4 separate regions of the Homo sapiens genome follow, and all the other regions are linked to region 1. Evidence: promoter capture Hi-C in 16 types of primary human blood cells and fetal thymus (Javierre and others, 2016). All regions are on one chromosome and are shown on one strand. Each heading gives the region's core, a stretch centred on a gene start or on the middle of the fragment in contact. The rest is flanking DNA. Distances are from core to core; before and after follow the strand shown.

Region 1 (2,700 bases), core at 83-2,582:
AACCCTCCAGTGGCGTTTCATCATATTCAGAATGAGATCCAACTCTTACCCTCTCCTAACACTCCCGCTCTTATGCTTCAGCGGCACTGCCCTTTTTTCTTTTTCTGCTAACTCATCAAACTCATGGCTGCCTCCGGCCTTAGCACTTGCTATTCTCTCTGCTTGGAATACTCATTCCCCAGATGTCCACGTGACTTACTGCTTCTTGTCATTTAGATCTCAACTCTAATTGTCCCCTGACTTCTATCAGTAGTGCTCCATCACACCATCTTACTTTTCCTAAGGCTTACCACTATCTGAAAATAGCCTGCGTTTCTCTATTTTCCCCTCAGTAAGAATTAAAAGTTCATACTAGGGCCCATTTCCTAGCAGTGTTTGGCACATAGTAAGTATGCTGAAAAAAAAAAACCTTGACTGACTGAATAAATGAACAAATAAACTCACTTTTAATGAGATATCAAGGTTTTATATTAATTACATGAGCCAAGAATTGTGGTTTCATTTTTAAAATGTGAGGACCTACTGGTTTAATCCTTCATACTTCACACATATGCTTGTGCTGGAACTATGACTGTAAATCAATAGCAATACCATCCTCTGTTTTGGCTTCTTCCCCTAACCTAAATAGTTCTCAGATTTACTTTTCTCTCCATCTCCACTGCCACACTGTCACCTTAGTGCAAATGACCATCCTCTCTGGCCTTTTTTCTGTAAGGTTTTAATCTCCCAATATGTATTCTCCAGACTGCAGGCCAGTGAGCTTTTCAGTTGCTGTTACACCCATGCTTGAAAACCCTTTAAGTTTTCATTGTTCTCAAGATAAAGACCAGAATGTGGTCTGGTCCACCACCTCACGTCAGGCCAGCCCTCACTCTCCACTCCAGGCCACACTTTCTCCTCCCCTCCTGGTTCCCGCCTGCCAACTGGCTGGGTAGCCGTTGCTTCCCGCTTCCTGCAAAGTTCTACATCGCACCCATTTCGCCCACTTCTTCAGATTTCAGGAGATTGTTCCTTCCTCGAGGAAGCCCTCCCTGATTAGGCCAAGCGCCACTCCACGTCATACAGCCCCACATCACCATGGGCCTCTCTTTCAGGGCTTTGTTTTATGAGTATGCAATCCAGAATATGACAATCTTATTGACATGCGTCAACGCGAGCTTGCGCTCAATAGCTATTTGCCGAAGGAATATACGGACTAGCGGCCCGACCACTCCTCGCCCCTCCCCTACCACTGCCGCGCACATATTACGCATTAAGCAGGCGCCGCGAGTACGGACATCGCGAGCGCCTGCGCGAAGGGCTACGCATGCGCAGAGGGGCCAGCCCGCTGACAGATTCTCGGTGGCGGCGGCAGCGGCGGCGGCCCTGGACTGCGGGGAATGGGAATCCTAGGTCCCTGACTGAGCACCTCCCCCGCCTCCCTGCCCCCGACATGGCTCAGGAGAAGATGGAGCTAGACCTGGAGCTGCCTCCGGGTACGGGCGGGAGCCCGGCGGAGGGCGGTGGCAGCGGCGGCGGCGGGGGCCTCAGGAGGTCTAACAGCGCCCCCCTGATCCACGGCCTCAGTGACACTTCGCCGGTGTTCCAGGCCGAGGCGCCGAGCGCCAGGCGGAACAGCACAACGTTCCCGAGCCGCCACGGCCTGCTGCTGCCGGCCTCCCCTGTCCGCATGCACAGCAGCCGCTTGCACCAGATCAAACAAGAAGAGGGCATGGACTTGATCAACCGAGAGACGGTCCACGAACGGGAGGTGCAGACCGCAATGCAGATAAGCCACTCCTGGGAGGAAAGTTTCAGCCTGAGTGACAACGACGTGGAGAAATCCGCCTCCCCCAAGCGCATCGATTTCATTCCTGTGTCACCAGCACCGTCACCCACTCGGGGAATTGGGAAGCAGTGTTTTTCGCCATCCTTGCAAAGTTTTGTAAGTAGCAACGGATTGCCTCCAAGCCCTATTCCCAGCCCAACGACCCGATTTACCACCCGGAGAAGCCAGAGCCCCATCAATTGCATTAGACCAAGTGTTCTTGGACCATTGAAAAGAAAATGTGAAATGGAAACTGAATATCAGCCAAAGAGATTTTTCCAGGGCATCACCAACATGCTTTCTTCTGACGTTGCACAGCTGTCAGATCCTGGTGTGTGTGTATCTTCGGATACCCTTGATGGAAACAGCAGCAGTGCCGGATCTTCTTGTAACTCACCAGCGAAAGTCAGCACTACCACCGACTCTCCTGTGTCACCTGCCCAAGCGGCTTCTCCATTTATTCCACTAGATGAACTTTCGTCTAAGTGATTCACTCATCCTGAGACTTTCTTTTTGCAGTGGAGAGAGAGAATAATCTAGTTGGGGCAAACACTGAACTTTGTCAATTAATTTGAGGCTATTTCCTATTTGACCCCTTTTCTTTTTTGAAATTCCCTGAAATGATGTTATTCTAGAGAACTTCTATGTCAGGTTCCTTTGGATACCCTTGAATTCAGTGTAGTAATATTTTCAGACGTTTCCCCAATAAGTGTGTTGAAGCATACATCTTTACGCTGCTAATATGTCTAAATACATATGTTATCCCTTGATTTTTTTAAATAACTGAGAGCTCTATTTATTTATGGGATTATTAAGTTCTGATGAAAATATAAATGTTGACTTAATCAGCATAGTAAACTGATGTTTAAAATTCCATACTTCATGCCCACACT
Region 2 (2,700 bases), core at 6-2,505, 260 kb before region 1:
TTTTGAGACAGAGTTTCGCTCTTGTTGCCCAGGCTGGAGTGCAATGGCGCGGTCTCGGCTCACTGCAACCTCCGCCTCCTGGGTTCAAACAATTCTCCTGCCTCAGCTTCCTGAGAAGCCGGGACTACAGGCATGCACCACCACGCCCGGCTAATTTTTTGTCTTTTTTTTTTTTTTTAAATAGAGACGGGGTTTCTCCATATTGGTCAGACTGGCCTCAAATTCCCGACTTCAGGTGATCTGCCCGCCTCGGCCTACCAAAATGCTGGGATTACAGGCCTGAGCCACTGCGCCTAGCCTAGTTCTGTGTTGTAGTCATGAGCAGTTGAGTCCATGCTGAGAGTTTGCATCTCAGGGCATAGGCATAATAGGGGACGGGGAGGACTGCAGTACCTTTACTCCCCAAATGGTTGCTGGGCTCTTACGCAAATCTGCCAGCCCTCCGCAGTAGTCTTCAAGGCCCTCATAATACAAAAATCTCTATTTCAGAAAAAGAGAAAATTTAAATTAGAATGCCCCAGATTCCTGGATATGTAACTATCCAGGTAAAATTTATACTTATTAATATTAAAATTATTTCACTGCCTCTAGTGTACTATTGCTTGTTCAGTGGTAGCAAATTCAGTCACCCACCAACACAGGCAGTAAGTCCTAGATTGGGGCCAATTTAAGACAATAGAGCATGGTGGGCACTCTGGTGATGCTCAGCTGTCTTTAATTATTGCATTGTTAATATGTGAGCTCAAGGTTGCCAGGTTTTCTGATTTTAAAAGGAGCAAGATATCTGGACTTTCAAATGAAATTTGATTTTTAAATATTGGCAGGAAAATGATTACAAAACAACACAAATCCCATATGAAGGACTTCTAACTTTTAGTAGTGGTGGACTAGGTGATTCAAACTAACCTTCCCTCTGTAAAGAGCTGAAAGAAATATATTAAAGCATCTTATTAAAAGCATGGTTGACCAATGACCTAATAAAACAGTAACAAGAACAGGAAAAGGGTTGGCACTCAGGAAAATGAGCCAAAGCTCTTTCTGTCCTAGGGAATTTGTCCATCTAGGAGAGGTACTAAAGAAGAGGTGCTTTTGATGACTGGCACAGGGTAAAGGTGACCGGCATCAGGTCCAGGTGGAGGAGGATCTGGTCTATTACAGTCTGCCTCTGCTAACCAGGAGACTAACCAAAGAGGCAGCAAAGAGGCAGACCTGTGTGGCATTTTCGTGTGGCCAAAAGAAATATGGTTAGTTAAGTACACATCAAAGGCAGAGATCCTGGCTTAACAATCCCTGCTCTAGGGTGTAAACTTGAAGAAGACCATTCCAAAGGTGGTATACAGACTGTACTCCAGAGGATTATAAATCCATGGCTCTGATCTTCTGGCTCCCTGAGGAGTCTCATGAAAGGAAATGAAGGAAACTAACAATATTCTAGGTCTCCAGTTATTTCTATAAGCAATTTTTCAAACAAAATGGGCACCAAACAATAAAAGATTATAAAGCACTTGGATACACAAAGCAACACATACCAGAATCAACAGAAACAACATACCACAGAAAAAGATCTATAGATACTGGAATTTATTCAATACACACTGTAAAATAGTTATTTTCACTATGTTCATGGAAATAAAGCACTGAATGTAAAAACATCAGCAAATAACTGAAAACTATAAAAATACACCAAGATGTTGAAATTAAAGAGCTGAGAAAGATAACCAAAATTAAGAACATAAATGGATTTAACAGCAGCTGAAGAATATCAGTGAACTTAAAATATTTCAGAAGAAACTATGCATCTGATTTTTCAGTTTAGTCCTTATGATTTGCAGAACAAAGAATATAAGATTGCTGCCTTTGGAAGATGAAAGATCATATTCGGAAAAATACAGAATAGAGGGTAAGAGACACAAAGGATACAGTGAGAAGTGCTAACATAATTTAGTTGGAGTCTCAAAAGAGGAGACAGAAACTTGGGTATAGGCAACACTGGAAAAAATGATAGGTGAAGATTTCCCAGAACCAATGAAGGAGGTCAGCCCACTGATTCTAGAAAGCCAAGCAGGATATATAAAAATAAATTCACATCTAGACACATCAGGCTAAAATTGCAGAAAATCAAAGGCAAAGAATAGTTTGATTGACAACTAATTTTTCTTTATCAACACTAAAAATAAGGAGACTGATGGCTTAGAACTCTTAATCTAGTGAAACTTTCCTTCTAAAATGAAAGCGAAATAAACACATCTTCAGATAAACAAAAGCTGAGAGAGTATCTACACAAAAAGAAATTCTCAAGGATATTCTTCAGGAAGAAGGAAAATTATCCCAGATAGATATTTGGAATAAAATGCAGCAAGGAATAAAAGAAATGTTAAAAATAGGAGTTGGTATAAATGAACATTGGCTGTATAAAATATTAATAATTGCTGAAATATGTATATTAATTAATATGGAGAATTAAATTATACAACCACAGTAACTAAACACCATGAGCATAATTGTAGTTAAGGTAAGATCCTTGAATATATTGGAAGAAAATAAAGGTATAGATAAATACTAGACTTTGATAGGTCAAGGATTCATGTTGTAGTTTCTAGGTAACGATTAAAAAAAATAGAAGGAAATTACATAACTTCTTAAGAGAGGAAAACATAGGAACTTTAAAAAATTGAGAAAGAAAAACAGCTAGGTCAATTT
Region 3 (2,700 bases), core at 195-2,694, 420 kb after region 1:
TGCCTCAGCCTCCAGAGTAGCTGGGACTACAGGCATGTGCCACTACACCCAGCGAATTTTTTTATTTTCAGTAGAGATGGGGTTTCACCATGTTGGCCAGGCTGGTCTTGATCTCCTGACCTCAGGTCATCTGCCCGCCTTGGCCTCCCAAGGTGCTGGGATTACAGGCGTGAGCCACCATGCCCGGCCACCTTTCTCAATTCTTTATTATCTATTTAAATGCACGCTAAAAAATTTACCTTAGGTAAATAAAGGAGAATGTGGTTAAAAAACACAACTCAGTAAACCTGGCACTCTTCAGTAGTAGGTCTGGGATCTAGTTGTGTTGATTCTGGTGACCTATCACAAACCCCTCTCTAAGCTTATTGCTTTTTGCTGTTAAACTTGGTCATAAGCAAGCTGTGTCCATTGTGAAGTGTGTGCTGTGAGCACATCGCATACACTAGATTTAATCATCCACTGCCGGCACTCAGTGCATTGTGAAGGGAGGGTAAGGAGCTGGTGAAATCACATGTGAAACTGAAATACTTGTGGAATAAACGATGAAAGGGTTTTGTTTGTAAAACAAACGCTACAGAAAGTATTGTTGGATGCGGTGGCAACTAGTTTATTGCTACCAAGAGGGGTTTAAGTTTGAATAGACCACAGGTAAGTGCCCTGAAGCCAAAAGGACTTGGTTTATAATGTTAAAAATTATTCGTTTTTGGAAGAACAAGAGTTGAACTCATTTTCTGCCTTCTCTGGGAAAAAGCATTTCCTGTTTTGTTATTAGACAGCTGTTTCAAAGTTTTGTCCAGTAAGCAGAATTTTGACTAAATTCTTCACAATAGTTAAAACCAATTTCCTGGGGGCAGGTGGGGAACTATAAAAGTCCTCTTTTCATCTGGAGGTAGGTTTACCTACCAGCCTAGGCCAGCTAGCTGTTTCTTTACACTATCCCTTTCTAAGGATTTGAGTTCGTTTGTAAAATGACATAGCAGACACAACATAATACCAGAGGGGGCTGAACGTGGTGGCTCACATCTGTAATCCCAGCACTTTGGGAAGCCAAGGCAGGAAGAGTCTCAGGAGTTCGAGACCAGCCTGGGCAACATAGCGAGACCTTGTCTCTACTAAAATTAAAAAAAATTAGCCAGGTGTGGTGGCATGTGCCTTTAAGTCCCAGCTACTCCGGGGCTGAGGCAGGAGGACCGCTTGAGCCCAGGAGGTTGAGGCTGCAGTGAGCCCTGATTGTGCCACTGCACTCCAGCCTGGGCGACAGAACAAGATCCTGTCTCAGACATACACACACACACACGCATGCACGTACGCACGCACCAGAGGGAAACATCATGCAGAAAACCATTGGCCCATTTATTGGATGGTGTCCTCCCGAAGTTTCACATCTGCTGTTTGGAGCTACTGAGAACCTGGCTGATTTCATTTAGTGCTCCCTCTGTCTTACTTTGTCTTTCCTTCCTTTCTTTCCTTTCTCCCTCCTTTCCTTCTTTCCAGCTATCCAGTAACATGTATTAAGGACTCAGCATGTGGAAAGCACGCATGACATTGTTCATGGAGACGAGGGTCTGGAGTCAGGCAGCAGCTCGGATCCCATCTCTGACAGTGGTGGGCTGTGTACACTCTCTGGCCTCAGCTTCCCTATTTGTAAAATGGGGATGGTGGTGCTAACTCACAGGGTTGTGGGCATTCAGGGAAAAATTGTATATTTAGTACTGGGTGTGGTGCCCTGCCAAATGTTAATGACTTCCTTCCTCTCCAGTTTTCACACTTACCTTGTCTCCCATTTCTGAGGTGAATATGCATTTTAAGGCTCCCAAGCCATAGATTAAGCTGTTTTGACATGTCTGTCCCTGCTGAGAACGTGAAATCCTGTGTGTGTTATTAAACAGTTTACTGCCCGGCCGCACTGAGTACTCGCAATGTCTTGAACACCCTTGCAGGTTACCCCTCCTGGCTCTGAACGGGCTGTTCCCTCTATGCAGAATGCCCACCCACCTGACCAGTTAGTCATCCTTCAGCATGGAGCTGTGGGAGAGGGAGCCTCCCTGTGGTTGGGACATACCTCCCTCCACCCCAGGCCTCTCATCCTCAGTTAACAACCCGCCTGTGCCATCAATTACACTGTTTTGTGGTTTTTTACACCTTTTTTTCTAGACACAGGATCTCACTGTATTGCCAAGGCTGGAGTGTGGTGGCATGATCATAGCTCACTGTAGCCTCCAACTCCTGTGCTCAAGTGATCCTCCTGCCTCAGTGTCCTGAGCAGCTAGGACTATAGGCACATGCCACTGCACCTGGCTAGATTTTAACATTTTTCTTTTTGTAGAGATAGGATCTTGCTTTGTTGCCTAGCCCAGTCTTGAACTCCTGGGCTCAACTGATGCTCCCACTTCAGCCTCTTAAAGTGCTGGGATTATAGGCTTGAGCCACCATGGGGGCTGGCCTCGCTTCACATTTTATGTAGTTGCTATAACCCCACCACTCACCCTGCTCCAGCCCATGTCACCTTTTCTCTTTCCTAAATGTACTAAGCTTGTTTCCCACCCCAGGGCCTTTGCATTTGCTGTTCCCGCAGCAATCTGGAGAGCTGTTCAGATTTTCCTAGGATTAATTCTTCCCAGTCTGCCATCCCATGGCACTTATTACTACCTGAGATGATGATATATATTGACTCTTGTCTGCTTTCTCTGCTAAAATCCT
Region 4 (2,700 bases), core at 162-2,661, 280 kb before region 1:
CATAGTTCTGAGCAGAGTCACGTGCTCACGCGCCCCACGTGTAGTGACAACGGGAATGTAGGCTTAAACATAGGTAACAGCTTCAAAAGAGTTTGTAAAAACAAGGCTGTGAATATCAATATAATTGTGAGACTTTTGGGGATTTATTGTAGGTTTGAACGTAACTTGAAATACAGTGATTTGTAGACAGTCAGTAATTGCTTCACTTGCTCCATTTGGAATTTTGTAACTATTCACTTCTCCAGCAGCATAAGGTGGTTAAGAAGACAGTTTCTGTTCGTTGTAAAAAATTACTCCAGGCTTAAGGAGGACAACTATTGTGTCTTTATATTCATATACCCAGGATTTAGCACAGTGCCTAATCCATAAGGGCCACACTAAAATGTTTGCCCAGTGAATAAATCCTGGATAATATCATCCTGTCTGCAAAGCCAGTATTACAGAGTGATTGGTTGCCAGTAGGGGAGATAGCTCCCTTTGGTTACACAAATTGTGGCAGACATTGAACCACTCCAAAAGAAACTAAAGCTATTTATTTGGGGATTGAAACAAAAAAGCCTACACAACTTGAAAAAAGCATAAAGACACTCAGATGGAACCATAGTGTCTCCCAGCAGATATCACCAGATGGGGGTGGGGGTAAATAATTGCAGTCACATATGCAGCAGGTATATATATTTTTACTAATGGCTTATTCTTAAACAGGACTTGAGGCCAGAGAAATTTCAAGGATAAATTGCTTTGGGAGAATGCCTGATATCAATGTCTCCTGAGACATAGAAGTTTTCCAAAATAACAAATCACCAGATATATTATTTTGTTGCCTCCTCTTCCTTCCCCTGGCCCCTGCCAATATGCTTATTTACAAGAGTTACCTTATCAGTTGTCTTAGGAGAACACATTTCCTTCAACAGAAGTCACAGTATCATCTTATGGTCATAATTTTACAATATCCCTGCCTCTACTGAGAAGAGATACATAGCGAATGGAGATGTGCTGAGCCAATGAGGAATTAATCCTAGGCAGCACTAGTAGATGTGGCCACAGCTCTGGCCCCACCCCACTCTGGTGGTCAGGCCAAAAAAGAAGTCAGGTAAGAAGTGTGAAAGGAAATTCAATCTTGGGACCCCCAAACTCATTAAGCCACAGGGAAAATTCAAGCTGGGAACTGGGTCACGCAAACATGCCTCCCCCTTTTGGTTCCTAAATAAGATGGCTACAAGATGAAAAGCTACATGCCTCCCCCATATTTTGCCCACAAGGGAATTCCCAGTGAGCTGCTAGATCTTTACACTAAAGGTGTTTCTATTAAAATTTCACCATGGCAATATAAATTGATAGTTTATAGATGCAGTCACCCCTGGCCCACCAGACACAAATGCATATCTGATTGTTCCCCTGGCCCAGTTTTGTCTGTTATCTTATATAAAATGCAGATTCCCTGCAATTTTCCTCTGCCTCATTTGTCTGTGTCATCTTATGTTAAAAAAAAATGCAGATTCACTGAGCCAGACAAAGGCATGAATGACTGTTTTTCCCTACCCACCTCTTACATGAAAATTGTGTACTTCTCAATATCCTGCCCTTTCCCCTTTAAATTTGGAGCCTTCAAAATCATCTTTGGAGAAAGGCATAGACCTGTCTCCTAGGTGTGCATCCTTAACTTTGGCAAATAAACCTCCTAAAATAATTGAGACTTGTCATTTTTCTCGATTGACAGAAGAAAAGACAGAGCCAAGAGGATGGCAGTGTACTTGGCTACCCCCAGAGCCTAGCTGAGGCTCCAGCCCTGGGCACTTCACTGGAGCATTCCCTTGCCAGCAGAGGAACCTGCAGCCTAACCTCATGCTGGGGTAACCTTAATGTGGGCAATCCGTCTTACTGTAATAGACAAATTGCCTGCTTTCACTTAATCCACAGATTTACAAGGGACAAACTTTGGCCCTAGGAATATTTATTGAATATCATTTCATCCCTGTGACTTCCACTTCTTTCTGATTCCCATATCACCAGCCCAAGAGAACTTGAGTATCTGTTCACAGCTTTGCTCCTCTTTCCCCACATTAACCACAAAGCAACGGAAATAGAATAAAGAGACAAATGGGTAACTCTAAGTAGGTTCATCACATTCATTACATGCCCTGTATCCAGAGCCAATATAAATGGTCTTGATTCTGATTGTGTTGAGGTATAAAAACATGCTGATTTCTGTGGCAGGTATTAATGATTATTACTTGTGTATTCATTTGCTCACTGCTCCATTCTGGATGTTCTTGGTCTCAGGGCCTAAGGATCATTTTCTCGGATGCATCACGGCTCATCTTCCGGCTCAGTTCCTCCAGTGGTGTGCGGGCCACCCTCAGACTGTACGCAGAGAGCTACGAGAGGGATCCCAGCGGCCATGACCAGGAGCCACAGGTACAGAAACAGCTGTGCTCCCAGCAGTGTGTCTCGCAGCTCCTGGCAAATTTAGAGAGCTCCATGGGCCTTTAGTGGGGCTATTTTACCTCCTGGAAAGGTACATGATAATTTCAGCTGGAGGACAAGCTCAGGGCAACTCCAAGCAAGTTTAATTCGTTCATTACAGTGTTTGAAACAGAAAAATTGCTCTCTCGCATCTATTTGTAATCCGTTTAGACCAGCATTTCCCAAACAACTGTCCTCTCTTGACTGTTGAGTGGTTTGTTAATTGGGGTAAAG

The links. The method cuts DNA at HindIII sites, captures the fragments that hold promoters and counts their contacts. A CHiCAGO score of 5 or more calls a contact.
Region 2: a fragment that was not itself captured here is called in contact with the fragment with the promoter of PABIR1 in region 1 in 2 of 17 cell types (naive B cells and neutrophils); the score reaches 6.5 in naive B cells.
Region 3: a contact is called between a fragment that was not itself captured here and the fragment with the promoter of PABIR1 in region 1, in 1 of 17 cell types (activated CD4 T cells). The highest score is 5.7, in activated CD4 T cells.
Region 4: a fragment that was not itself captured here is called in contact with the fragment with the promoter of PABIR1 in region 1 in 2 of 17 cell types (neutrophils and total B cells); the score reaches 9.6 in neutrophils.

Annotation. Positions count from the first base shown.
Region 1 is chr9:68,778,733-68,781,432 of GRCh38, forward strand. It overlaps PABIR1 (PP2A Aalpha (PPP2R1A) and B55A (PPP2R2A) interacting phosphatase regulator 1), which reads left to right and starts at 1,333. Exons shown (of 1, transcript NM_138333.5): 1 at 1,333-2,700. The coding sequence starts at 1,433. The coding sequence ends at 2,296. The region is part of intron 2 of PIP5K1B (phosphatidylinositol-4-phosphate 5-kinase type 1 beta); the gene reads left to right. RefSeq lists silencers at 822-1,236, 1,354-1,593 and an enhancer at 1,241-2,069. The HindIII fragment of the contact is 10,001 bases long and covers 1-2,700 here.
Region 2 is chr9:68,516,885-68,519,584 of GRCh38, forward strand. All of the region lies in intron 10 of PGM5 (phosphoglucomutase 5), which reads left to right. Among named protein-coding and RNA genes, the nearest start is that of TMEM252, 23 kb to the right of the region's middle. The HindIII fragment of the contact is 5,042 bases long and covers 1-2,700 here.
Region 3 is chr9:69,198,253-69,200,952 of GRCh38, forward strand. The region is part of intron 1 of TJP2 (tight junction protein 2); the gene reads left to right. Among named protein-coding and RNA genes, the nearest start is that of TJP2, 25 kb to the left of the region's middle. The HindIII fragment of the contact is 2,171 bases long and covers 360-2,530 here.
Region 4 is chr9:68,496,944-68,499,643 of GRCh38, forward strand. It overlaps PGM5 (phosphoglucomutase 5), which reads left to right. Exons shown (of 11, transcript NM_021965.4): 10 at 2,284-2,418. It overlaps LOC124902174 (a long non-coding RNA gene), which reads right to left. Exons shown (of 2, transcript XR_007061565.1): 2 at 1,938-2,510. Among named protein-coding and RNA genes, the nearest start is that of TMEM252, 43 kb to the right of the region's middle. The HindIII fragment of the contact is 7,679 bases long and covers 1-2,700 here.